7 separate regions of the Homo sapiens genome follow, and all the other regions are linked to region 1. The links are contacts of gene promoters, found by promoter capture Hi-C in blood cells and fetal thymus (Javierre and others, 2016). All regions are on one chromosome and are shown on one strand. The core of a region is centred on a gene start or on the middle of the fragment in contact, and the rest is flanking DNA. Distances in the headings are between cores, read along the strand shown.

Evidence for each region. Contacts are between HindIII fragments. The CHiCAGO score rates a contact against its expected background, and 5 or more counts as called.
Region 2: a fragment that was not itself captured here is called in contact with the fragment with the promoter of PTPRJ in region 1 in 4 of 17 cell types (M1 macrophages, neutrophils, M2 macrophages and 1 more); the score reaches 12.2 in M1 macrophages.
Region 3: a fragment that was not itself captured here is called in contact with the fragment with the promoter of PTPRJ in region 1 in 2 of 17 cell types (activated CD4 T cells and total B cells); the score reaches 5.4 in activated CD4 T cells.
Region 4: a contact is called between a fragment that was not itself captured here and the fragment with the promoter of PTPRJ in region 1, in 1 of 17 cell types (neutrophils). The highest score is 5.1, in neutrophils.
Region 5: a contact is called between a fragment that was not itself captured here and the fragment with the promoter of PTPRJ in region 1, in 4 of 17 cell types (total B cells, naive B cells, total CD8 T cells and 1 more). The highest score is 7.0, in total B cells.
Region 6: a fragment that was not itself captured here is called in contact with the fragment with the promoter of PTPRJ in region 1 in 12 of 17 cell types (M1 macrophages, M2 macrophages, megakaryocytes and 9 more); the score reaches 12.1 in M1 macrophages.
Region 7: a fragment that was not itself captured here is called in contact with the fragment with the promoter of PTPRJ in region 1 in 1 of 17 cell types (naive B cells); the score reaches 5.2 in naive B cells.

Annotation. Positions count from the first base shown.
Region 1 is chr11:47,977,975-47,981,847 of GRCh38, reverse strand. It overlaps PTPRJ (protein tyrosine phosphatase receptor type J), which reads right to left and starts at 1,289. Exons shown (of 25, transcript NM_002843.4): 1 at 840-1,289. The coding sequence starts at 935. RefSeq lists silencers at 259-688, 789-1,378. The HindIII fragment of the contact is 2,862 bases long and covers 1-2,093 here.
Region 2 is chr11:48,149,846-48,153,267 of GRCh38, reverse strand. It overlaps PTPRJ (protein tyrosine phosphatase receptor type J), which reads right to left. Exons shown (of 25, transcript NM_002843.4): 17 at 3,270-3,278; 18 at 3,085-3,172. Among named protein-coding and RNA genes, the nearest start is that of MIR3161, 55 kb to the right of the region's middle. The HindIII fragment of the contact is 4,023 bases long and covers 145-3,422 here.
Region 3 is chr11:47,747,441-47,751,188 of GRCh38, reverse strand. It overlaps FNBP4 (formin binding protein 4), which reads left to right. Exons shown (of 17, transcript NM_015308.5): 5 at 1-46; 6 at 153-273. Among named protein-coding and RNA genes, the nearest start is that of FNBP4, 18 kb to the left of the region's middle. The HindIII fragment of the contact is 7,780 bases long and covers 1-3,748 here.
Region 4 is chr11:48,173,646-48,177,657 of GRCh38, reverse strand. No RefSeq gene overlaps it. Among named protein-coding and RNA genes, the nearest start is that of OR4B1, 41 kb to the left of the region's middle. RefSeq lists a silencer at 593-765. The HindIII fragment of the contact is 5,624 bases long and covers 1-4,012 here.
Region 5 is chr11:47,784,244-47,787,696 of GRCh38, reverse strand. It overlaps NUP160 (nucleoporin 160), which reads left to right. Exons shown (of 36, transcript NM_015231.3): 32 at 1,143-1,244; 33 at 2,634-2,775. Among named protein-coding and RNA genes, the nearest start is that of FNBP4, 19 kb to the right of the region's middle. The HindIII fragment of the contact is 3,579 bases long and covers 1-3,058 here.
Region 6 is chr11:48,128,193-48,132,095 of GRCh38, reverse strand. PTPRJ (protein tyrosine phosphatase receptor type J) reads right to left here. Exons shown (of 25, transcript NM_002843.4): 8 at 1,380-1,637. Among named protein-coding and RNA genes, the nearest start is that of MIR3161, 33 kb to the right of the region's middle. The HindIII fragment of the contact is 4,254 bases long and covers 1-3,568 here.
Region 7 is chr11:47,832,512-47,836,411 of GRCh38, reverse strand. It overlaps NUP160 (nucleoporin 160), which reads left to right. Exons shown (of 36, transcript NM_015231.3): 7 at 603-761. Among named protein-coding and RNA genes, the nearest start is that of NUP160, 14 kb to the left of the region's middle. The HindIII fragment of the contact is 1,062 bases long and covers 1,549-2,610 here.

The sequences.
Region 1 (3,873 bases), core at 40-2,539:
CTCCGCTATTTCACTTCTCTCCCTCAGTTCCCCATCTGTGAAATGGGAATGCCCCTTCAGCTGCTCTGCCTCAGCCCCTATGGAAATGCCAGGAAGGGGAAAGGTCGGTCACCAAAACGCCAGGGACAGCATTATCTGAAAAGTGAAGCCAGAAAAGAGGGTGAGGGTGGGGTGGGGAGGGGGAGCCAGCGCCCACAAAGCACGAATTAAACACCCATGAAATCAAGCACGACGCCAAGAGGGCCGGCTGCCTTGAGAAAAGCCAGCGTGCGGCCACCTTTTCCCCGGCCTGGGAACTTTCCCCAGGAACAGGGCCCTCGGCCCGGAGTCCCGCGCCTCGCCCAGGGCCCCACTGCCCAGCGCCTGGCCCTGCCCTGTCGCCCCCGCCGCCCCTCGGGCCCCTGCAGGCCGGGTCGGAGGTCTGTCGGCAAAGGCTCAGCCAGGCCGCCCGGCTCTGCGTCCCCAGACCTCCGCAAACACGCCCCCTCCGGCCGCCTCCGGCTAGGAAGCCGGGCCCGTGCCCGCCAGATGTGCCCAGCGCCGGGAAGAGCCGGGCCAGGGACGGCCTGGAGCCCGCGCGGAGGCTTTCCCCGGGAGGCTCGGGCACCGCGGCACCCGGATCCCGCCTCTCTCCCCCGATCCTGGGCAGCCGGAAAAGGGATCGATCGCCGGCGTGCGAGGCCGGCCGGGGTCCCCGCAAGTCGCCTTCCGGGGATCCGGGGATCCGGACCCCCGCCCCCTTCCCCGGAACCCCCCGGGGGGGTACGCTCGGGCAGGTGCAGTCAATGCCAGTCCCGCCCCAGCCTCCTGCCCCCCGCCCGAGCCCACCCGGCGCTTACCTGGCCCAGGCGCAGCAGCAGCAGCAGCAGCGGCAGCGCCCAGCGCAGCCCGGGCGAGCGCGGAGGCAGCCGCGCCTCCCGCGCCGCCGGCTTCATGCCCCGCGCGCCCTGGAACGTGCCCCGGACGCGCGAATCGGGCCCCGCCGTGCGCCCGAGCCCGGGCACCGTCGTCGCCGCCTCCTGCCGTCTCCTTCGCCTCCTCCTCCGCCAGCCGGTCCGCCTCGTCCCCGCTCCGCCCGCCCCGGGCTTCCCCGGAGACATGGCAGCGGCGGCGGCGGCCGCGGCCACACGCCGGAGCCTAGCGCGGCTGCCGCGGGGGGGCCGCGTCCCTGAGCGCGCAGGGGCTTCGCGGGGCGGAGCGAGCGGCGCCCACCCCCAGCGCGCGGCTACCCGGTCCCGGCTCCCGCGGCTGCTCCCGCTGCCTCCTCCGCGCGTCATGCGGCTGGGGCTGCTGCAGGGAGCCGCGGCGAGCGCTCGGCCCCCTCCCTTCCCCTCCCCCTCTGAATATTCATCGCTTCCTCCCGCCCCGGCCGGCCCGGCGGCTGCGGAGCTCCGCAGCCCCTCGCCGCCGCCCGCCGCTGCCCCCGCCCCCTCCGAGCCGGCCGCGGATCCCCTCCCGCGGGCAGAGGAAGCGCTCCCGCCTCGCCCGCCCCTCCGCCCAGCCCTCCCACATTCCTGGGACTTGGAGCCCGGGACCAGGCTCCGTGGCTCTAGCGCCTCGAGCCGGCACCCCTCAGGACGGGCTCCCCAGCCTCACACCAGGTCCACGGCGCCGGGTTCGGGTGGGCAGAGGTTGACCGAGACCCCTACTGAGAGCGCAGCCAAGCCTGATTGTAGACAGCAACCCGGCGAAGGCGCGTTTGACCTGGCCCTGGGTGGGCTTGGGGGTGCGTGAACCCCGAAATTGTAGAAGGCACGCTGTACATTGTGTTCTGTCCCCCAGCCCCCGAGCGCCGGCCAGGGAGGCAGAGAGCCCAGTACAAGCCAGTCCAGGGATTAGAACCCCAGCTGTGGCATATGGTGGACGGGGCTCTGCTGGTAGTACCAGCCCTGTGAACTCTGGAGACGCATTTCTCCTCTCTGGCCGACCCCACCCACCCTCCTCTCCTCCCGTGTGAAATAAAGATCGTACTAGGACGTGTGGAGAGAGAGGTCCACTGCATTCGCGATTAAACGAGACAGTAGTTAGTAAAGTCCTAAACACCTAGCCTGACACATCGTGGGACTCCACATACATTAGCTCTTCTGGAAGCTTTCATCACGTTGTTAAAGAGGTCAATGAACTGACAGGAGTTAAAGATCACAGCAGATATTACTCCTGTGCCCATGCACAGAGGAAGACACTAGGATCAGGGAGGCTATGCCACTTGCCCAGGAGAAGCCGCAAGAGAAAGGGCCAAACCAGAGAGTGCTAAGGAGGAAGAGGTTAATTCCAACCAGGAGAGAGGTGACACCTGAGCTGGGCTTTGAAGGATGTGTTGAGTTTCACCAGGCCAGTAGAGGGGAGAAGTGTCTCAGGAGGTGGGGCCAACTTGGCAGAAACGAGGCAGCAGATGCTTCGAGCTTGGCCTTCGGAGAAACAGGAATGGGAGGCTGGGGGATTCATACTGGGGGAGACTTCAAAGGCCAGGATAATGAGTCTAGGCTGGATTCTGTGTGCAGCAAGATGCAGACCACGAGGTGTCCAACACTACCTCCAGACACCCGTTGGGCCTCAGGTTACCATCTACAAGATGGGAATACACATTCACTTACAGGGTCTAAGTGGTTCCCACCAGACAACACACCCAGACAAGCACTGAGGATAAAGAAACTTTGCCAGGCCGCACGATGGCTCACGCCTGTAATCCCAGCACTTCCGGAGGCCAAGGTGACTAGATCACTTAAGCTCAAGAGTTCGAAACCAGCCTGGGCAACGGGGTGAAACCCAGTTTCTACAAAAATTAGCCGGGTGTGGTGGCACACAGCTGTAGACTAAGCTACCTGGGAGGCCGATACAAGGATGGCTTGAACCTAGGCTGCAGTAAACCAAGATGGCAACACTGCACTCCAACCTGGGGAATAACGTGAAAACCTGTCTCAAAAAAAAAAAAAAAAAAAAGAAGAGGCTGGGCGTGGTGGCTCACACCACACCTGTAACCCCAGCACTTCAGGAGGCCGGGGCAGGCAGATCACTTGAGGTCAGGAGTGCGAGACCAGCTTGGCCAACATGGTGAAAACCCATCTCTACTAAAAATACAAAAGTTAGCTGGGCGTGATGGCGTGCCTGTAATCTCAGCTACTCCAGAGGCTGAGGGCAGGAGAATCGCTTGAACCCGGGAGACGGAGGTTGCAGTGAGCCAAGATTGCACCACTGCACTCCAGCCTGGGTGACAGAGTGAGACTCCATCTCAAAAAAAAGAAAAGAAAAAGAAAAAAGAAACCTTACCTATGGACTTACACACCTTGCCACCCTTCATTTAAACACTATGTAATTATCATAATTCACAAGGATTTTTGTTCCTCTGTGCCTCCTCCCCTCTTGAGGCAGAGACATAAAAGGTGTTCATGTCCATGATACCCAGAGGGAAGGAAAGCTTGATTTAAGATGCTACCAGGGGGCTGGGCACAGTGGCTCACGCCTATAATCCCAGCACTTTGGGAGGCTAAGGTGGGCGGATCACCTGAGGTCGGGAGTTCAAGACCACCTGACCAACATGGAAAAACCCTGTCTCTACTAAAAATACAAAATGAGCTGGGTGTAGTGGCGCATGCCTGTAATCCCAGCTACTCGGGAGGCTGAGGCAGGGGAATCGTTTGAACCCAGGAGGCAGAGGTTGCAGTGAGCAGAGATCGCGCCATGGCACTCCAGCCTGGGCAACAAGAGTGAAACTCTATCTCAAAAAAAAAAAAAAAAGATGCTACTGGGTAGCCAAGGATGATTGCCAATTATAAAAAAGAAAAAGAAGATGATAGTAGGTCTGCAGGCTGCCTCGGATCCTCACAGACCCTACAGACCCTACTAACCCTGAAGACCGACCCAGGTCTCCACAGA
Region 2 (3,422 bases), core at 907-3,406, 170 kb before region 1:
CCACCATGCCCAGCCCCTAGTTCCTGTTTTCTTACACATTGTTACATTTCTTTCCTGCTGTATAAACCCCTGGTTTTAGTCAGTCAGCGAGATGGATTTGAGATTCAGCTCCCATCTCCTTGGCTGCAGCACCCGATTAAAGCTTTCTTCCCCGGCAATATTTGTCATCTCAGTGATTGGCTTTCTGTAAAGGTGAGGAGCAGGACCTAGACCAAACCCGTGGTGTTTTGGTAGCAAAAGAACAAAGTGGAAATGTAGAGGTGATATGGGTTAAACTGTGCCCCAAAAAGATATGTTGGATTTCTCGCCCCCAATACCTATGAGTGGGATCTTATTTAGAAATAGGCTCTTTACAAGCCTGCACTGCCAAGACAATCCTAAGCCAAAAGAACAAAGCTGGAAGCATCATGCTAGCTGACGTCAAACTATACTACAAGGCTACAGTAACCAAAAGAGCATGGCACTGGTACCAAAACAGAGATATAGACCAATGGAACAGAACAGAGCCCTCAGAAATAATACCACACATCTACAACCATCTGATCTTTGACAAACCTGACAAAAACAAGCAATGGGGAAAGGATTCCCAATTTAATAAATGGTGCTGGGAAAACTGGCTAGCCATATGTAGAAAGCTGAAACTGACAAAAATTAATTCAAGATGGATTAAAGACTTAAATGTCAGACCTAAAACCATAAAAACCCTAGAAGAAAACCTAGGCAATACTATTCAGGACATAGGCATGGGCAAGGACTTTACGTCTAAAACACCAAAAGCAATGGCAACAAAAGACAAAATTGACAAATTGGATCTAATTAAACTAAAGAGCTTCTGCACAGCAAAAGAAACTACCATCAGAGTGAACAGGCAACCTACAGAATGGGAGAAAATTTTTGCAATCTACCCATCTGACAAAGGGCTAATATCCAGAAACTACAAAGAACTTAAACAAATTTACAAGAAAAAATCAAACAACCCCATCAAAAAGTGGGCGAAGGATATGAACAGACACTTCTCAAAAGAAGACATTTATGCAGCCAAAAGACACATGAAAAAATGCTCATCATCGCTGGCCATCAGAGAAATGCAAATCAAAACCACAATGAGATAGCATCTCACACCAGTTAGAATGGCAATCATTAAAAAGTCAGGAAACAACAGGTGCTGGAGAGGATGTGGAGAAATAGCAACACTTTTACACTGTTGTTGGGACTGTAAACTAGTTCAACCATTGTGGAAGACAATGTGGTGATTCCTCAAGGATATGAAACTAGAAATACCATTTGACCCAGCCATCCCATTACTGGGTATATACCCAAAGGATTATAAATCATGCTGCTATAAAGACACATGCACATGTATGTTTATTGCAGCACTATTCACAATAGCAAAGACTTGGAACCAACCGAAATGCCCATCAATGATAGACTGGACTAAGAAAAATGTGGCACACATTCACCATGGAATACTATGCAGCCATAAAAGGATGAGTTCAGGTCCTTTGTAGGGACATGGATGAAGCTGGAAACCATCATTCTCAGCAAACGATCGCAAGGACAGAAAACCAAACACCGCATGTTCTTACTCATAGGTGGGAATTGAACAATGAGAACACTTGGACACAGGGAGGGGAACATCACACACCGGGGCCTGTCATGGGGTGGGGGGAGGGATAGCATTAGGAGATATACCTAATGTAAATGATGAGTTAATGGGTGCAGCACACCAACATGGCACATGTACACATATGTAACAAACCTGCATGTTGTGCTCATGTATCCTAGAACTTAAAGTATAAAAAAAAAAGGCTCTTTACAAATGTAAACAAATTAAAATGAGATCATACTAGATTAGAGTGGGCCCTGAATCCCATATGACTAGTGTCCTTATAGGAGGAAAAGAGACAAAGAGACATAGACACATGAGGGGAGATGGCCATGTGAACACAGAGGCAGACATCAGAGTGTTGCTGCCACAAAACCAAGGGACGCCTGGGGCTCCCAGAAGCTGCGGAGGCAAGGAAGGGCGCTGCCCAGAGGTTTAGAAGGGAGTGTGACCCTGCCCACACCTTAATTTGGGACTTGTGGCCTCTAGACAGTAAATTTCTGTTGTTTTCAGCCTCCCAGTTTGTGGTGCTTTTTTATGGCAGCCTAGAGAACTAATACAAAGGTTAGAATATAGGAAAAAGGATAACCCTTGCCTTCAAGCAGTTGCAACCTGGAGGAGAGGTGTACTGTACACAGAAAAAACTAACATTACAAAAAGGCAGAATTAAAGAAATGCTGAATATTGGTAACAAGCAACAGGGGAAACAAGGCAGTCTGAGCACACAGAACTCAAGTCCTCCTAATGGGATCCCAGAATGCCCATGGAGGAAGCAGCATGTGCACTGTGCTGAGTGCTGAGCAGGATTTCAAGAGAGCAAAGGCAGAGATGCTGGACAGGGCAGCACAGGAGGACGAGTGTGCATGGTCACTCTGAGCAGGGCTGGTTCCTGGGCTGGTTGGAGCACAGCATGGGGAACTGAAAGGCAGACACTGGCCAAGAAATTCCTTGTGCAGGGCTTCAGAAGTGAGCCTCACAAGCCATCCTAGGCCACACTGCCATCAAGCCCCAGACCTCTACATGCCCATTTGGTTTCTTTCCAGCTCATATAGCTTCCTAAGTATTGTGGCTAACAGTTCCCTGACTTGAATTCCTAGTTTCTGTTAACAGTTTTCTAACTTTCAGGAAAAACAAGCCAATTTCTAAGGAAAGTGGCTGTGCTTCAGTCAGGAGTAGTCCAAGGTAGACATCCAGGACAGTATGACGCAAAGGGTTTGGAGCGCAACAACCCCTTGCGTTATATAGCCATTTAATGTAACCTGTTTGTGTGAGTTCATACCTGGCTTTGAGCCACTATTGTCTGTGAGTAATATAACTGCACTGCTGACTCTGTAGGAGAGAGAATAAAGCCATGTCCCAACTGCCTACAGTCCCTCGAGTGTTCTTTCAGCTACCTGCCACCCATCCACCAACTCCCCTCAGATCCCAGCTTGGGTTGGAACCTGACACAATTAAAAACAGTATTTACAGCAACATACTTCGTATTCCTCTGCGAACCCACAGTTGGAGTCAGCTTGCTGCTTCTTGAAGTAGGCCTCAAAATTCTCCACTCTGATTAACTTAGATCTAAGAAAACAAAACTTATCAGGATTTTTTACATTCAGTGAAGTCCATATTCAATAGAAAAGTACAAGTTATTAAAAAAAATAAAGAGATTACTCACTTTTTAGGTCTTCATGATAGAAAGGGAAAGAAAAAATATGCAATTAGAAAGACTCATTCATACTCTAGAAATGACAGTAAACAATCTTCCCAAAACAACAAAACCCAGGGTATAATTTGGCAAGAGGGGGTCAGAGTACTATTATTCACAAAA
Region 3 (3,748 bases), core at 1-2,500, 230 kb after region 1:
AATATCTTGCCACACAGGTACAGGGATTACAGCATTACCAGCCCAGGTAAGAATAAATTTAAAAGTGAAATTGCCTAGAAGGAAATTGAAGCCTTATCTTTTGCTGATAGTATTTGTCTTATATTTCTCTTGCTAAGTATATATTTTTTTAGTTCTGTGCCAGGTGCTGAAACTAGTTTTGTGGTAAATACAGACATATATTCTAAGGAGAAAACGATTTCTGTTTCCAGTAGTAAAAGTGGACCAGTCATAGCCAAGCGAGAAGTTAAAAAGGTCAGTGTCGAAACTTACCTCATTTGTTTATTTTCAGATCTAATAAGCGTTACTCTGAGCACAGGAGTGGAAGCCTTCTCTTAATATTTTATGTCATACATGTGAAATAGGATAAGTTTCATAACTTTCACTTTGTTTCTGTGTATTATGTAGCCTTTATAGCGGTTACTCACTTGACTTTTTCTTTTTTCTTTTTTCTTTTTTTTTTTTTTTTTTTTTTTTTTTTTGAGACAGAGTCTCGCCCCGTCACCCAGGCTGGAGTACAGTGGTGCGATCTCAGCTGACTGCAAGCTCCACCTCCCGGGTTCACACCATTCTCCTGCCTCAGCCTCCTGAGTCGCTGGGATTACAAGCACCCGCTACCACACCTGGCTTATTTTTTGTATTTTTAGTGGAGACGGTGTTTCACTGTGTTAGCCAGGATGGTCTCGATCTCCTGACCTCATGATCCGCCTGCCTTGGCCTCCCAGAGTGCTGGGATTACAAGCGTGAGCCACCACATCTGGCCTTTTTTTTTTTTTTTTTTTTTTTTTTGATATGGAGTCTCGCTCTGTTGCCCAGGCTGGAGCGCAGTGGTGCTGTCTCAGCTCACTGCAACCTCTGCCTCCCAGGCTCAAGAAGTGATTCTCCTGCCTCAGCCTTCTGAGTAGCTGGCATTACAGGCACCTGCCACCATGCCTGGCTAATTTTTGTATTTTTATTAGAGGCAGGGTTTCACCATGTTGGTCAGGCTGGTCTCAAACTCCTGACCTCAGGTGATCTACCTGCCTCAGCCTCCCAACGTGCTGAGATTACAGGCATGAGCCACTGCAGCTGGCCCACTTCACTTTTTCTTTGAGAGCTTTAGGGTATCACAGAGGCCTCTTGGATCATTGCAAAGGACGTGGGAGCAGCAGTCCAGACAGGGCTCCACTTCACATAGAATCATTCTATTATTTTTCGGATTCCATATATAAGACATTTTAAAAATATAAAGGTAACTACTTTAAAAACTACTGCAGGTTGAGTATTTCTTAATTGAAATGCCTGGGATCGGAGATAATTTAGATTTTGAATTTTTTTGAATTCTGAAATATTTGCGTTATACTTAGCAGTTGAGTATTCTTAATCTGAAAATGTGAAATCTGAGATGCTCCAGTGAGCATTTCCTTTGATCATCATGTCAGTGCTCAAACGGTTTCAGATTTTGGATTTTTCAATAACGGATACTATGTTAGTGAAACCTGAGCATTTCTATAGCCTAATTAGTAAGAAAAGTAAGTTGTATTCCTTAGGGAGTGTATATTGAATTCCAATTTATCTTCAATTTTAAAGACTTTTTTGCATCAAAATATATTTTAATTTTAATTTTTTTCTTTTTGAGACAGAGTCTTGCTTGGTTACCCAGGCTGGAAGGGAGTGGCGCGATTTCAGCTCATTGCATCCTCCGCCTCCCAGTTTCAAGCAATTCTGCCTCAACTTCCCGAGTAGCTTGGATTACAGGCACAACGCCTGACTAATTTTTCTATTTTTTTTTAGTAGAGACGAGGTTTCACCAGTTGGTCAAGCTGGTCTTGAACTCCTGACCTCAAGTGATCCACCTGCCTCAGACGCTGGGATTACAGGCACAAGCCACCGCACCTTTCCTTTTTATTTACTTATTTTTGAGACAGGATCTGACTCTGTCACCCAGGCTAGAGTACAGTGGCACGACCATGGCTCACTGCAGATTTACTCTCCTGAGCTCAAGCAGTCCTGCCTCAGACTGCTTAGTAGCTGGGACTACAGGTGTGCACCACCATGCCAGGTTTTGTTTGTTTGTTTGTTTGTTTGTTTGTTTTTTGAGAGACGTGGTCTCACCATGTTTGCCAGACAGGTCTCAAACTCTGAGCTCAAGTGATGCTTCTGCCTCGGCCTCCCAAATTGCTTACATTATAGGTGTGAGCTACTGCATGTAGCCCAAAAAAAATACTTTAAAATAATATAATTGAGCTTGGCGCAGTGGCTCACACCTGTAATCCCAGCACTTCGAGAGGTCAAGGCAGGCGGATCACTTGAGGTTAGGAGTTCAAGACCAGCCTGGCCAACATGGTAAAACCCCGTCTATTAAAAATACTAAAATAACTGGGTGTAGTGGCACATGCTTGTAGTCCCAGCTACTTGGGGGTCTGAGGCAGGAGAATCGCTTGAATCTGGGAGGCAGAGGTTGCAATGAGCTGAGACCGCACCACTGCACTCCAGCCTGGGTGACAGAGTGAGACTCCATCTCAAAAAAAAATTTAATAATAATAATAAAATAATAATTTAATCAGGGCAGGAAGATGGCTTGAGTGCAGGAGTTCTAAACCAGCCTGGAAAACATAACAAGATCAACCCCATCTCTACAAAAGAAAAATTACCCAGGCAAGGTAGCACACACCTGTAGTCCCAGCTACTCAGGAGGCAGAGGCAAGAGGATAGCTTGAGCCCAGGAGTTCAAAATTATCATTGTGCCAGTGTGTTCCAGCCTGGACAGAGTGAGACCATCCAGAAATAATAATAATAACTTAAATTTACAGTTACAGAAAGGAGGATAGGACAAGTGTTACCCCAATGGGAGAAGCAGATACTTTAATCACAAATTTCATTTCAGGAATAGTTCATTTTATTTTATTTTATTTTATTTTTATTTTTTATTTTTATTATTTTTTTTTTCTTTGAGACCTAGCCTAGCTCTGTCACCCAGGCTGGAGTGCAGTGGCGCGATCTCTGCTCACTGCAACCTCCACCCCCCGGGTTCAAGCGATTCTCCTGCCTCAGCCTCCCGAGTAGCTGGGAGTACAGGCGCCTGTCCCACGCCCGGCTAATTTTTGTAGTTTAGTAGAGACGGGGTTTCACCATATTGGCCAGGCTGATCTCGAACTCCTGACCATGTGATCCTCCCACCTTGGCCTCCCAAAGTGCTGGGATTACGGGCATGAGCCACCACGCCCAGCTATTTTATTTTTTTGAGACAGTCTCTCACACTGTCATCCGAGCTGGAGTACAGTGGCATGATCTCAGTTCACTGCAACCTCTGCCTCCCAGGTTCAAGCGATTCTTCTGCCTCAGCCTCCCGAATAGCTGGGATTACAGGCGCACGCCGCCATGCCGGGCTAATTTCTGTATTTTTAGCAGAGATGGGGTTTCACTATGTTGGCCAGGCTGGTCTCAAACTCCTGACCTTGTGATCCGCCTGCCTTGGCCTCCCAAAGTGCTGGAATTACAGGCATGAGCCACTGCGCCCGGCCTAGGAATAGTTCACTTTAGTCTAAATCACCTTCATGGCATACTTACTAAATTTTCTTATCAGGCCCAGCATGGTGGCTCACGCCTGTAATCCCAGCACTTTCGGAGGCTGAGGTGGGCAGATCACCTGAGGTCAGGAGTTCAAGATCAACTTGGCCAACCTGGTAAAACCCTGTCTCTACTAAAAATACAAAAATTGGGCCTGTTGCCAAGGTGGGCGGATCACCTG
Region 4 (4,012 bases), core at 762-3,261, 200 kb before region 1:
GTTTCTCTTCAAAGGATTTAGCCTGTTAACTTCCTTATCCCTCGTTCGCAAACTCAACTTTCTTGTTCTTCCTTGCCCCTAGTTAGCATAAACAGCCTACCCCATGTCCGTTAGCTCTAATCAATAAATCTGTTCCCTTGGTGACCTCTACCCATTGTTCCCCCGAAACTGCACATCTCACACGTTCCACCTCTGTACCTCACGTCCCCCTCCCCTTCTATATTTAGGAAAATATGTACAAGTAGCCAACTGGGTCAGCTCAGATTTTGCAGTCTGACCCCAGCCCATGGGGGAGTGACACAGAGATAGGGACTGCATTAAGGATAAAAACTCCCTGGTCTCCTTTGTTCTCTGTGCTCTTGTGATTTTTACTGATGCAAGTGACACCCTTCTACAGAAGTAAATTGCCTTGCTGAGAGAATTAAACTTTTGCCTGAGTGCTGGTTTTACTTCGCTGCACCGAGCATTTATTCCTGGAGCATTTTATATCCAACAATCTCATGTGTAGAAATCATGTGTAAGTGGTTTATTATGGCTGGAGGGTGGATTCTGAGCAGAATGTAGTGGAGGCAGGCTGGTGGTTGGGACACAGCCATGTCCCATCCACAACCCCAGATACCCTCCTGCTTCAGCTGGTTACCATGAAGTGACTGAGATGACCCCCTCCCCATCAGAAGCAAATGCAAAGGGCAGATCCATCTTGTTCCCTGATGCCTTCTTTCCATCTCACTGCCCCCAGGACCAACAACATTACACCAGGAGGTAGAGCAGAGGGAGGCACAAAGTCATCAGTCACGCTCCAGGAAAGAGGCCTTCCCAGCAGCCAAGGCTGAGCCTTCTCCCCTGAGCTGCTCCCATGAGAGGGCTGACCCCTCAGGGGAGTTTGCTCCTCAAAAGGCCCTTCCTTGTGTTAAGCCAAACCTGTCTCCCTGTCACTGTCACAGGTCCTAGGCTGACCTGTGAGGCCACATGAGGCATGTGTCTGTCCCCTCTAGCCCATGGTGTCCTTCCAGACTTTCCAAGAAAGAGCCATGCCATCTCCCTCCCTCTAAAGGTTCTGGAAGTAATTAAGCCTCCAGGCTAGGTGGAGTGGATAGGACCAGTGGATTTGTTGAAAGGGCCTTCACGGATTCTTCCCATCTAGGGAGTCTATGGCCCATGTCAGGGAACATGAAATGCCTCAGAAGGACCCTCACACTGCCAAGGCTGCAGCATCAGGGCCTATGAGTCTGGATCAGGTTGTCCAAGACACAACCATGACCCCTGAGCATGCAATTTTGACATAACAAAATTGGTCTCCTGATATGACACCTGGTCTCACACCCAAGACTGCAGCTGTGGAAACACAGGACAGAATTCCTTAGATCCTGGATGTGTGGCCCTCACTAAGTGGGAGACTCGAACCGGTGCTCCCAACTCCATATAAAGGCTCCCAGAAGTTTTGAGTTTGTGATATTGTTTGGATGTTTGTCCCCTCCAAACCTCACGTTGAAATGTAATTCCTCCTGGGCATGGTGGCTCACACCTGTAATCACAAACTTTGAGAGGCCAAGATGGGCAGATGACTTGAGGTCGGGAGTTTGAGGCCAGCCTGGCCAACACGGTGAAACCCCATCTCTACTAAAAATACAAAAATTAGCTGGGCATGGTAGTGGGAGCCTGTAATCCCAGCTACTCAGGAGGCTGAGGCAAGAGAATCACTTGAACCCAGGAGGCGGAGGTTGTGATGAGCCGAGATCGCGCCACAGCACTCCAGGCTGGGCAAAAGAGGGAGACTCCGCCTCAAAGAAAAAAAAAAAGGAAGAAATATAATTCCCAGTGTTGGAGATGGGGCCTGGTGGGAAGTGCTCCAATCATAGGGACGAATCCCTTGTGAATGGCTCACAGCCATCCCCTTGGTGAAGTGCGAGTTTTCCCTCCGAGTTCACGCAAGATCTGGTTGTTTAATAGCATGTGACACGTCCCCCCATCTGTCACCCTCTCTTTCTTGCTCCTGCCCTTGCCATGTGACATGCTGGCTCCCGGTCACCCTCCTCCGTGATTGTAGCTTCCTGAGGCCCTCACTAGAAGCAGATGCCAGCACCACACTTCCTGTATAGCCTGCAGAGCCATGAGCCAAACTAAAACCTCTTTTCTTTATCAATTAAACAGTCTCAGGTGGTGTTTCTTTACAGCAATCCAAGAAAGGCCTAGCACAGTTTGCTTCTTTTTCATTTGCCTATTCAAGTTACAAAAGGAGGGGGGCGGGGTGTTCATTATTATAATGTTCATTGTGGATGAAGCTGTAAAGAAACAGGCATTCTCACACACTATAATGAGAGTGTAAATTGCTATCTAGAGAAAAATTTAGCAGAATTTCATCTAAGCGTTACCTTTTTTTCTTTTTTGAGATAGGATCTCACTCTGTCACCCAAGTTAGAGTGCAGTGACACAATCTTGGCACAACCTGCCTCCCAGGCTCAAGTGATCCCCCCCACTTCAGCCTCCCAAGCAACTGGGACAACATGCATGTGCCACCACACTCGGCTAATTTTTTGTATTTTTTGGTAGAGATGACGTTTTGCCTTGTTGCCCAGGCTGGTCTCAAACTCCTGAGCTCAGGCAATCCACCTGCCTTGGCCTCCCAAAGTGCTGGAATTACAGGCATCAGCCACCACGACCAGCCTAAAGCCCTACCTTTTTATATATTTCGATTCATTAATTTTATAGAAAAGTTTACTAAGAAATTAATTGTGATGTCTGCAAAGATCTGGCTACTGTGATAGATGCCACATCCTTATTCACAGGAGAGTAAAATCAGAAATAATCTAATGGCAATCAATAAAAGAGTAGTTAACTCGAGAGTGGTATGTGTCCATACTATGGAGTATTATGCAGCTCTTAAAATGGTGAACAGGATGAATACCTAATAACACAGAAAGAGTTCACAATATGTCAAGTATAAAAAGCAAGTTTCAGCCAGGCACGGTGGCTCAGGCCTGTAATCCCAACACTTTGGGAGGCTGAGGTGGGCGGATCACCTGAGGTCAAGAGTTCAAGACCAGCATGGCCAACACAGTGAAACGCTGTCTTTGCTAAAAATACAAAAAAATTAGCCAGGCATGGTGGCACATGCCTATAGTCCCAGGTACTTGGGAGGCTGAGACAGAAGAATTGCTTGAACCCGGAAGGCAGAGGTTGCAGTGAGCCAAGATCATACCATCGCACTCCAGCCTGGGTGACAAGAGCGAAACTCTGTCTCAAAAAAAAAAAAAGCAAGTTTCATTAGCCAGGTGTGGTGGCACGCACCTGTAGTCCCAGCTACTCAGGAGGCTGAGGTGAGAGGATCACTTGAGTCCAGGAGTCTGAGGCTACGGTGAGCCATTACAGTGCCACTGCACTGCAGCCTGCATGACAGAGTGAGACCTCGTCTCTAAAAATAAAAATTTTTAATTTTAAAAAAGAAGCAAGTTTCAAAAAATTGAGCACAGAACCAACTTAAAAGGTTAGCAGCCAGGATAGTGGTTAGCTTTGCCAGGGTGTGGCTGAAAGGGGGCACCAAGGTGGCTTATGGCATGCTGGTCGTATATACTTTTTAATTTGGGTGCTGGTTATATGGGTGTGTTCATTTTTGGACAATTATTCAAACAGCCAACCTATGATTAGTGCATTTTTCTGTCTGTATTACGCTTCAGTAGAAATATTACTCAAAGAAATATGTTAATCTTAAAAAGAAATATGAACATGTTTGATTCCAGTTTTGCAAAAAGATGAAAGCAAATACATGAAGATGAAGATGTATGCATGTGTGCACATATGGGGGGTGTGTGTGTGTGGTGTTTGTGAGAATTCTAAAGGTTACAGAATTATTTACAGTAAAATGTTAACAGTGGTATTTCCTATGTGGTGGGATATATTAGCCCATATTAGTTATCTCTTGCTGTGTAACAAATTATCCCAAAACAGAGCAGTTTGAAACAGTAAACATTTATCATCTCAGATGCTTTCTGCAAGTCAGGGAGTCTGGGTAGGT
Region 5 (3,453 bases), core at 20-2,519, 190 kb after region 1:
TCACATCTGTAATCCTACTAATACTTTGGGAGGCTGTGGCGGGTGGATCGCTTGGGACCAGCCTGGCCAACATGGTGAAACCCTGTCTCTACTAAAAATACAAAAATGAGGGTGTGGCACACAACAGTAATTTCAGCCTCTCAGGAGGCTTAGGCACAAGAATCTCTTGAACTTGGGAGGCAGAGGTTGCAGTGAGCTGAGATCGCGCCTCTGCACTCGAGCCTGGGCAACAAAGCAAGACTCTGTTTCAAAAAAAAAAAAAAAAAAAGTTTGTGAATTAGAAATAATTTTGAACTTTCAGAATTTTTCAGCCAGGTGCAGTGGCTTACGCCTGTAATGCCATCACGTTGGGAGGCCAAGGTGGGCAGATCACTTGAGGTCAGGAGTTCAAGACCTGCCCGGCCAACATGACGAAACCCCATCTCTACTAAAAATACAAAAGTTAGCCAGGAGAGGTGGCGTGTGCCTGTAATCCCAGCTACTTGGGTGGCTAAGGCAGGAGAATCGCTTGAGCCTGGGAGACGGAGGTTACAATGAGTTGAGATTGCGCCACTGCACTCCAGCCTGGGCAACAGAGCGAGACTCCATCTTAATTTAAAAAAAAAAAGAGGCCAGGTGCGGTGGCTCATACCTGTTATCCCAGGACTTTGGGAGACCTAGGCGGGCGGATCATGAGGTCAGGAGATCAAGACCATCCTGGCTAACACAGTGAAACCCCGTCTCTACTAAATATACAAAAAATTAGCCAGGCATGGTGGCATGGGCCTGTAGTCCCAGCTACTCAGGAGGCTGAGACAGGAGAATCACTTGAACCTGGGAGGCAGAGGTTGCAGTGAGCTGAGATTGCACCACTGCACTGCAGCCTGGGTGACAGAGCAAGACTCCATCTCAAAAAAAAAGAAAAGAAAAAAGAATTTTTCATCATTAATTTTATCTTGGAAGTAAATTGTCTCTTAATGCTTACTCATGTTCTTGTAGGTATCCAGTTGTGTAACTTGAGGAAGAGATGAGCCAATATTCCAGTAGTGAATTCAGCAAAAGACTAGAGATGAAGTTGTCATCTATCTCTCTAGTTTTAGTATCAAATTAAAGTGGTACGTTTCAGCGTTCAGTTTTCAAGTGTGGAACCATTTTCATTCCAGATGCATCAAATTGCAATTTGGAGGAGAGGCAGCACAAGCAGAAGCCTGGGCCTGGCTAGCAGCCAATCAGCTCTCATCTGTCATCACTACTAAGGAGTCTAGGTACAACCCTGGTGTTCAACCCTGGGTAGTTTTGCCTTTCTAAAAGCTGTAACTGTCTTTCTCTGACTAAATTGTCCTACATAGATCATTTCACTTTTTTCTTTCTTTTTGGCTAAGTTTTTATAGGGGCTGGAAAGTTTATAATTAAGGTGACATCATGTCATTTATTGTCCAAACTAGGATGTCTTTGCCTATGAAATGTCTCCTTCTCCATATCCCCCTCCTCAAAGACTTACTGTTTCATATCAGGAAAGGGTACTCTTACAGGCAAAAATCTGTATTTACTTGTTTCGGAGTGTTATCCTCCTTTTTTCCCCCATTTCTTCCACTGAGCAGTCACTGCATGGTTTCATCACAGTGTCCTCTTATATCTTGTCTCCAGCTGCTGTTCAGCAGTCTGTCACCCATCAGCCCCCATCATCCACTATACCTTCTTCAGATCTCCTCTGGTTCGTATACTTCCCCAGTGCACCCACTTTGTGTCCACGTAAATATACTTCAGCTTCTTCAGAAACCTTCTCTAACATTCCTAACCCTCAGTAAACTTCCCTTTCTGAACTGCATTTGCACTTGGTATTATACAGCTTAGCACTTTAGAGTGATAGCACTTTAGAATTTGGAAGTTCTCTGACATTAGTTTTCAACCCCTAAATTAGCACATCAGAATAACTTATTAAAATACAGATTATGAGAAATCACCCTAGTCTTCTAAGTTAGAACTTCTGCATGATTCTAATGCTTGATCAGGTTTGAGAACCAGTGTTCTGAACCAGTTTCTTGTTTTAGAAATGCAGAAACAAAGGAGTTAAATGAATTATGCATTAATAGCCAAACAAATAACGTTCATTTACTAAATATGTTTGTTTACTAAATACTAAATACGTTAGTGGGAGAGGAATATACGAACCCAAGACATCTAGTTTCTAGTGCTATCCCCATAAGTCACATTAGCCCAAATAATATTTGTTCCCATTTAGCTATATTATTGATTCAGTTGTTAATTTCTAAAGTTTTCCTTGTAAGGCTGGGCATGGTGACTCCTGCCTGTAATCCCAACACTTAGGGAGGACAAGGTCAGAGGATCACTTTAGCTCTGGAGTTTAATACCAGCGTGGACAACATAGCAAGTCCTTGTCTCTACAAAACATAAACAAAATTAGCTGGGCATAGTGGTGCATGCCTGTATTCCCAGCTATTTAGGAAGCTGAAATGGGAGAATCTGGGGCTGAGGCTGCAGTGAGCTGAGATCACACCACTCCACTCTAGCCTGGGTGACAGAGCAAGACCCTGTCTGAAAAAAAAGTTTTCCTTGTAAATACATGCTTTGAATGGTACTCTAAATAGCTATTAAGAATCTGAAACTCATTAGTCATTTTTGTTTTTTTCAAGTGCTACAGATGAAGCATGGCGACTATTATCCACTTACCTGGAGAGGTACAAAGTCCAGAATAACTTGTATCACCACTGTGTAATCAACAAGCTCTTGTCTCATGGAGTGCCTCTGCCTAATTGGCTTATAAACAGTTACAAGGTAAACGGATTATAACTTGTACAGAGTAAGAACCCACTCTTTATCATTCTGGATAACTTCATGAGATGATTAAAAATATGGACTGATTGCAGTGGCTCATACCTGTCATGCCCGCACATTGGTAGGCCAACAGGGGAGGATGGCTTGAGCCCAGGAGTTTGAGACCAGCTTGGGCAACACAGGGAGACCCCATCTCTATTTAAATTTAAAAATATATAAAGAAAAAGAAAAAGATGGGGTGATAACTTATGGGAACATATTGACTTACGTACTTTGGGAAGCTTTTCATCATAGCTAAAACCATAAGAACAATTCAAATTCATTTCCACAGTACTACTGTGTATTTAGATTTGAAGTTTCATAGGTTAGTAATTAGGTTAATGACTCCTATTATATTCACTGAACAATGAGTTTATATTTAGAACAATGAGCATATGCATGACACAGGATTTACTCTTCATACCTCAAAAAAGTCACAGGAGTCGGTGGAGTACTTTTCAAATAATATAACACTATGGCTGGTCTGAGTGCCGTGTTGTTTACAACTAATTGAGCACAACCAGTTTCCGATTGGTTCCTTCTCCACTCCCACTGTTTCACCTATTAAAAATCAAAAACGGGTTCTTAGACTGTCTGCATCAGAATTATTCAGATGGCAGTCTTCTTCAAAATACAGAT
Region 6 (3,903 bases), core at 192-2,691, 150 kb before region 1:
TCAGGACTTCTTTACCATCTTAAAAGTTATTAAGGCTCTCAGAGAATTTGTATTTACATAGGTTATATTTATTAATATTTACTATATCAGGGATTTAAAATGAAGAAATTTTTAAAATGTAAGAATCCACAGCATATATTCCATTAGACCTGAGAGACAATGTCATCCCATATCGGATCAAAGTTGGAAAACTCCAAAAGAGAATGAGAATGAAAAAGCCAAATAACATTTTAGTATTGTTATGATAATACTACCTTGGAGACCCCTTGAAAGAACCTAGGGATCCCTAGAGAGCCCTGGACCACAATTTGAAAACCACTGATCTAGCCCAGAGGTCAGCAAACATTCTCTGTAATGGCCAGAAAATAAATATCTCAGGCTTCACAAGCCACACGTTCTCTGCTGCCACTACTCAATTCTAGCACCAAAGTAGCCATAGACAGTACATAAGCAAATGAACATGGCTGTGATCCAATAAAACTTTATTTACAAAAACAGACAATGAGCCAAATTTGGCATAGGGGCCATTCTTATCTGCCAACTCTGTTTCAGATGATGGAATTCCAGGCAGGTGTTCAAATCATCCTGTAGAAATATTTTATTAAGAGGAAAGAATATTCATAATTAATTGGCAAGTTGGGGAAAAGGCAGATTACAAAACCACATGTACAGATGGCCTCAATGTTTGTGAAAGAAATAAATATATATTTGTGGGCTGGGTGCAGTGGCGCACACCTGTAATCCAAGCACTTTGGGAGGCTGAGGTGGGCAGATCATTTGAGATCAGGAGATCAAGACCAGCCTGGCCAATATGGCGAAACCCTGTCTCTACTAAAACTATAAAAATTAGCCAGGCATGGTGGTGCACACCTGTAATTCCAATTACTCAGGAGGCTGAGGCACAAGAATCGCTTCACTTGAACCCAGGAGATGGAGGTTGCAGTGAGCCAAGATCATGCCACTGCACTCCAGCCTGGGTGACAGGGTAAGACTGTCTCAAAAAAAAAAAAAAAAAAAAAAAAAAATATATATATATATATATATGTGTGTGTGTGTGTGTGTGTATTAAATATTAAATATATATGTATTAAATATATGTATACTCACACATATATTTGTGTATCTATATGTATATGTTTAAAAATTGTAAAATGTCATACATCAAAAGTGATTATCTCTGCTTGATGGTTTCCATGTAAGTTTTTTCTACTTACTTGTCTGTATTTCATATAATAAATAAGCATTAGTGTTATGAAAATTTTTAAAGTTTTTTCTTAGATAATTAAAAGAAAAACAATATTTGGAAACATTATGTTTATTAATTATACTGATTTCCTTTAAGAAACATGATGGTTTAACAGAAAAGCCTATTTGCTTACCAGTTCTATTGCAAACTGTCCGAGATGCCCCTTCAGTCCCATTTGGTCCTTTTGGAACTATTTCAAAGCAATACTTGGTTCCAGGGAACAAGCCACCAATGATAATACTTTGGTTGGTGGTTATTTCTACCCGAGAATTGCCAGCTCCCTCCTGTGTGATATGCATCTGAAATGATTCTGCATCATGGCTGCTCCATGCTAAGCCGATCTCCGTCGTGCTGACCACTGTCACTCGGAAGTCAGAAACTGGAACAGGGGCTATGCAAAGAAAGTAAACAACTAGATTAAAAATATACTTCTCCAGGAGACAGGGATGCCCCACCTCAGAAAATACTGAGATGAAATGTACACTTAGGACACCTGATCCCTCTCTCTGTCTTCTTTGTATCATCACCTACAACATGAGCCCCTCAGAAACTGCTGTTTCTGGCCATGGAGAGAGCACTTGATCATGAGAGTGCAGAAGCTCTGTGCTTACATTGCACACAATCATTCACAGGAAATGAGAGGAGGCGTGAGCTCCTGTGGTCAAGGGCTCAGGCTCTGGAGGAGAACCTTGGCCACACTGGCTGCTTTATCTCGAATGCATTACTAGCCTCCCAGAGCCTCTGTTCAGGGAGGGACAGCAGAGAGAGACCAGTCTTGACCCCCAAAATCCATTCCCCCATTTTCCCTTCATCATACCCACCCAGATTTTTAGCCCTGTGTGTGCATACCTGTTGGAAACAAAGACCACATTTCCCAGCTCCCATGGAGCTAGATGTTGCAATGTGACTAAGTTTTGCTCAACGAAGCATGAGCAGAGGTACTGGGTGACTTCTAGGAAGTGTCCTTTAAGGGTGGGGCACAACCTTCTGCCCTTCCTCCTTCTTATACCTGTAGTGTGGATGCAATGACTGGAGCTCACGCTGCCTGGCTCTAGAACCAAAACCTCAGCGGTGGCTGCAGCTTCCTGATCCCAGGATCACAGCTCAGAACATAGACCCCTGGATCCCGCAACTACAGCAGAGACTTCCTGATTCCTCCCTCTGCTGTCTGTGACCAAGGTGGTGACTCTCCAGGGGGTCAGTTCTGCAGACTTAGTCCAGGAGTCATTTCTTGGGGCGAGGCCTAAAGCCTGCTCCTCAACTGTTATGAGCTGACTTGTGCTCCCTCACCCCCAAATGTGTATGTTTATGTCCTAACCCCCAAGACCTCAGAATGTGGCTGTCTTTGGAGACAGGGTCTTCAAAGAGGTAATTAAGTTAATGTGAGGTCATGAAGGTAGGCCCTAATCCAGCAAGACTGGTGTCCTTATAAAGGGAGATGAGGGCATAGGCACACGCAGACTAAGGACAACCATGTGAGGGAGAAGACAGTCATCTATAAGCCAAGAGGGAGGCCTCAGAAGAAACCACACCTGCCGTTGCCTTAATCTTTGACCTTCAGCCTCCAGAACTATGAGAAAGTCTATTTCTGTTCAAGCCACACAGCCTTTGGTACTTGTTCTGGTAGCCCTAGCAAACTAATACACCAGCTCTTCCAATGATTCTGCAAAACCTCAATTCCCAGGATAAATCCCTTTTGGTTAAAATAGCTCACAGTTTCTGTTTCATACAACTGAGCCTTGGATAACCTCTATCATCCCCATCCTGCCTAGCACTGGGCTTCTGTTACAGGAGAGAGAAATAAACCCCTGTCTTGTTTAAGCCACGGATACTTGGGTTTTGTTGTTGTTGTTTTTGGTGGTGTTATTCGTGGCTGAACCTAATCCTAACTAATAAATAGTAAAAGAGTAAAAGGTAAAGAAATGCAAGCATATTTCATTTTCCCAAAGATCCAGTCCAAAATACATCTATAAGAATGCTAAGGTGTGCTTCCTGCGAAGGAATGGACATTCTTGTGGGATAAGCCTGGGTCCAGAGCCACACACCCCTGAGTTCAAGTCCTGCTCTGCTACTCACTAGCTCTGTGGCTTTGGGCAAACTGTTCAGCCATCAGGGTGTCATTTCCTCATCTGTAAAAGGGGACCCCAATACCTACCTCGGAGGCCACTACAGTGTCTATAAATCTCATGGCACAGTGCAAAATGCAGTGCTGGTGTCACTACTATTGTTTAATAGTATATAATCAATATTATACCACTGTACTACTAGTGCACCATTACTGTTTTATTTTACATTATCGGACCTTCTTTGAAACCTAAAGCTTTTTATTTGCTGCATAAAATCTTATTTTTAAGGGACATTTAAACAAACAAAGATGAGATACAGCTGTGCCAGTGATTCGTTATAATGTCAGCACCCAAGACACAAGGGGATATGAATACCAGGTCATTTTTGTCTCCCTGTATCAATTCACTCTAGGTCTCCTCCACACTGGAAAGAGAGTTACAAGCGCAGGCTCCAGGTGAGAAATACCAGAGGCTTAATCTCACCTCTGCCACTTTCCAGCTGTGATACCTGTCTAGCACCTCTCTCAGCCTTGGCTTCCTATCTATAAAATAAGGCTACTTCCAACCACATCACAGGGCTGTTGTGAGCAT
Region 7 (3,900 bases), core at 830-3,329, 150 kb after region 1:
CATTTAAGAGCAACAAATATGTTTTTAAAATGTAAGTTGGTAAAATGGTTTTCAAGATTCATCTAAAAAATACAGCTTATATTTTATATAAGTCTGATCTTATGTTTCAGACTGAAGAGATGTTTTTCATGTTAGCCCCTCCCTCCCTCTTTTTATTTTCCCCCGAAACAGAGTCTCGCTCTGTCACTCAGGCTGGAATGCAATGGCGCAGTCTCACCTCACTGCAACCTCCGCCTCCCAGGTTCAAGTGATTCTCCTGCCTCAGCTTCCCAAGTAGCTGGGATAACAGGCATGCACCACTGCACCTGGCTAATTTTTGTATTTTTTAGTAGAGATGGGGTTTCACTATGTTGGCCAGGCTGGTCTCGAACTCCTGACCTCAGGTTATCCACCCACCTCGGCCTCCCAGAGTGCTGGGATTACAGACGTGAGCCACTGCGCCCGGCCTGTGTTAGCCCTTTTGAAACAAAAACCTGTAAGGTCTTTTAGCAGATAAACTAGATAGAGCAGTAGATACAATGAAAGGTCCATCCTTTCAAAAGGTATGTTCTTCTAGCCTGAATATCCCTTGAATATCACCTATTAACTATTTTCTTGGACAGGAGCAAATGTGCCTAATGGTAGCTGACATGCTGGAGTATGTCCCTGTGAAGAAAGACCTTCGGCTTACTGCTGGAACTGGACACAAATTACGGCTTGCTTATTCCCCCACCATGGGACTCTACCTGGGGATATACATGCATGCACCAAAACGAGGACAGGTATGAAACAAATAAGACACATACCAAGTTATTCTGTGTGTACTGATGTGGAGAAATGGCTGTAGACTCAGTGAGTCTGTTCAAGCTCTTTTCACCGACCTAGATGTGTTTCTGAGGTGATGGTTGGGTTTCGTGCTACTATGTGAATTAGAAGATCTTGAAGGAGGGGTCAGTATGAAAGGAAGTAGAGAGTTTAAAGTAACATGAAAGGAAAAGTTAACAGAAACTAAACAAGAAGAGCAAATTAGGAGTTCTAGGTGAAAAAACAGAATTCCTGAAAGGGATGTAGGTGTTATGTGGTGTTAAGTTAATTTTTCTAAATAAATTTGCTTAGCATCCAGACAGTAGCTGCTGTCTGTAGATGAGATACGTAGGATGTGATGTAATAGTGTAATCATTTAATAAACAGCCATTTGTTGAGCATTGTGTGTTTGGTGCTGTGCCAGTCCCTTTATGCACATTAATAATAGCAGACACTGGGATTGTGCTTACTCTGGGCTCATATGCTATATGCGTTTTATCCATTTAATCCTAATAACAGCCCAGTGAGGTAGGGTCTGTCTCCCTTACTATGCAGGAGCTCTGATTCCCCCACTGAGTCCCCACGCTAGGCCACTGCCCTTCCTGGATGCCCTTCTCACTTCTGTTGGGATCTCATAGCCCACTCCACATTGCTCCTCCAATGTGGGTGCCCTCCTTACCCTGTTTGGGCCCTGAGACCACCAGACTGCCCCCATGCAATGGACCTCCTCCTCACCCAACCTGAGTTTCCATCCTGCACCAAGCTTTCTGTCCATGTGGAAGCCATCTCAAACTGTTCGTGCTCCTCCCCCCGAAGTCAGGCAGTCCCAAATGTGGACAGTCTTCTTATGTCCCTAGGCTCTTGCCTCATCACACCTGGCCATATCACCCCTGCATGCACGCCCTTCTCACTCACTAGTGTTCTCACTCCTGTGCTGGGACATGCCTGCACCGATGTTCTCTTCAACCTGTTCAGACTGACTCCTTATGCCGAACCCCAACCCCCCAGGTCCCCGACCCTTACCTTCTGGCCAGCAAGGATATCTACCTTGCTCTAGGTTTTTAGATTGGATTGCTCAGGAACAGAATGGAAGGGAAGAGGAAGAGCTCATTCTTGCAGTTTTTTCCTAATATGGCCCAAAAGTATCATGCTATCAAGACATTTATCTTGATTGCACATAATTGTTCTATTCTCTCTTCTGGAGGACAACCCTTGAACTATTTGAACATACCTATCCATCTCCTCTAAGTATACTCTTCTCTGCATGTAGGTTGTGGGTGGTAGGAGAATTGACCCTGCTCTAACTTCCTTAGTTCCTTCCATTGTTATTCATGTAACATCCTGTTGATCAGTCTCCTCGACATGTTACAATTAGTTTGTCACACTAAAATAGTGGTTCTCAAACTTTTGGTCTCGGGACCCTATTATACTCTTACCGAGAACTGCAAAGAGCTTTTGTTTATATGGGTTATACCTATAATTTATTAGAAATTAAAACTGGCTGGATGTGGATTGACACATTTTATATTATGCAGTATCTAAATTACTGTTTTGGGGGGTAATCCCCAAGACCACCTCACCTCCATGTCCAGTAATACTCTGAAAGGACTCATAGGGCTCAGTATGTAGTTGTGCTGACAGCTAAAATGTATTACAGTGAAAAGATACAAAGCAAAGTGAAAAAAGGGAAAAGGCACATGGAGTGAAGTCTGAAGCCAGACACAATCGTCTAAGAGTCCCCTCCCAGTAGAGTCTCACAGGACATGCTTAATTCTTCCAGCACTGAATTGTGATGATGTGTGTAAAATGTTGTTTCCCAGGAAAGCTTGCTAGAGGCACAGTGCCCACCATATTGGCCAGGCTGGTCTCGAACTCCTGACCTTGTGATCTGCCCACTTCGGCCTCCCAGAGTACAAGCAAGACTTTCTAAGGAGAGCAGCCTCAGGCCTGCTATGTTAACCCTTTCTGCACAACTATTATCATTGATGATATTATCATTGGTGATCACTCAGAAGAGCCTTGAGAAGCTCTGGAGTTCATGTTAGTGGATACGAAGTTTTCTGAAATCATAGTTTTCACTTTAAAACTTGAAATGTATCATTGGCAACAAATACTGTCATTTGTTTTCCCTGAAATGACAGGTTCACTTTATTCTTTTTTTTTTTTCTTTTGTGATGGAGTTTGGCACTCTTGTCACCCAGGCTGGAGTGCAGTAGCGTGACCTCAACTGACTGCAACCTCTGCCTCCTGGGTTCAAGCAATTCTCCTTCATCAGCCTCCACAGTGGCTGGGATTACAGGTACCTGCCACCATACCCGGCTAATTTTTTGTATTTTTAATAGAGATGGGGTTTCACCATGTGGGCCAGTCTGGTCTCGAACTCCTGACCTCAGGTGATCCACCCGCCTCAGCCTCCCAAAGTGCTGGGATTACAGGTGTGAGCCACCACGCCCAGCCTATTCATTTATTTAAACAGCTTTCTTGAGATGTAATTCACTCACCCATTTAAAGTATACCATTCAATGAGTTTTAGTATATCCACAGATACGAGCAACCATTACCATAGTCAACTTTAGAACATTTCCATCACCTCAAAAAGAAACCCCATACCTTTTAGCTATCATTCTTCCCTTCCCCCATTTCTTCCCAGCTCTACACAACTGCTAATCTATTTTCTGTCTCTATAAAGTTACTTATTCTGGTCATATTATGTCAGTGGAATCATATAAGTGGTTTTCTGTGACTGGCTTCTTTCACTTAGCTTAATATTTTCAAGGTTCATCCATGTAGCATGTGTTGTCAGCACTTCATTCTGTAAGTGCCCAATACATACAGCTGATTTATCAAGACAGGAATTGGAATAGAGAGAGTTTAATACACATAGAGCCAGCTAAACAGGAGACCGGAGTTTTACTGTTAACTCAAATCAGATCAGCCCCCCTGAAAATTTAGAGGCTAGGGTTTTTCAAAGATAGTTTGCCAGGCAGGGCGAGGCTATGAGTGCTGCTGACTGGTTGGAGATGCAATTGTAGGAGTGTGGAAAACCATCCTATGCGCTGAGTCTGCTTCTGGGTCGGGGCCACAGAAGAGTTGCTCATCTGGCTGGGGCCAGAAATG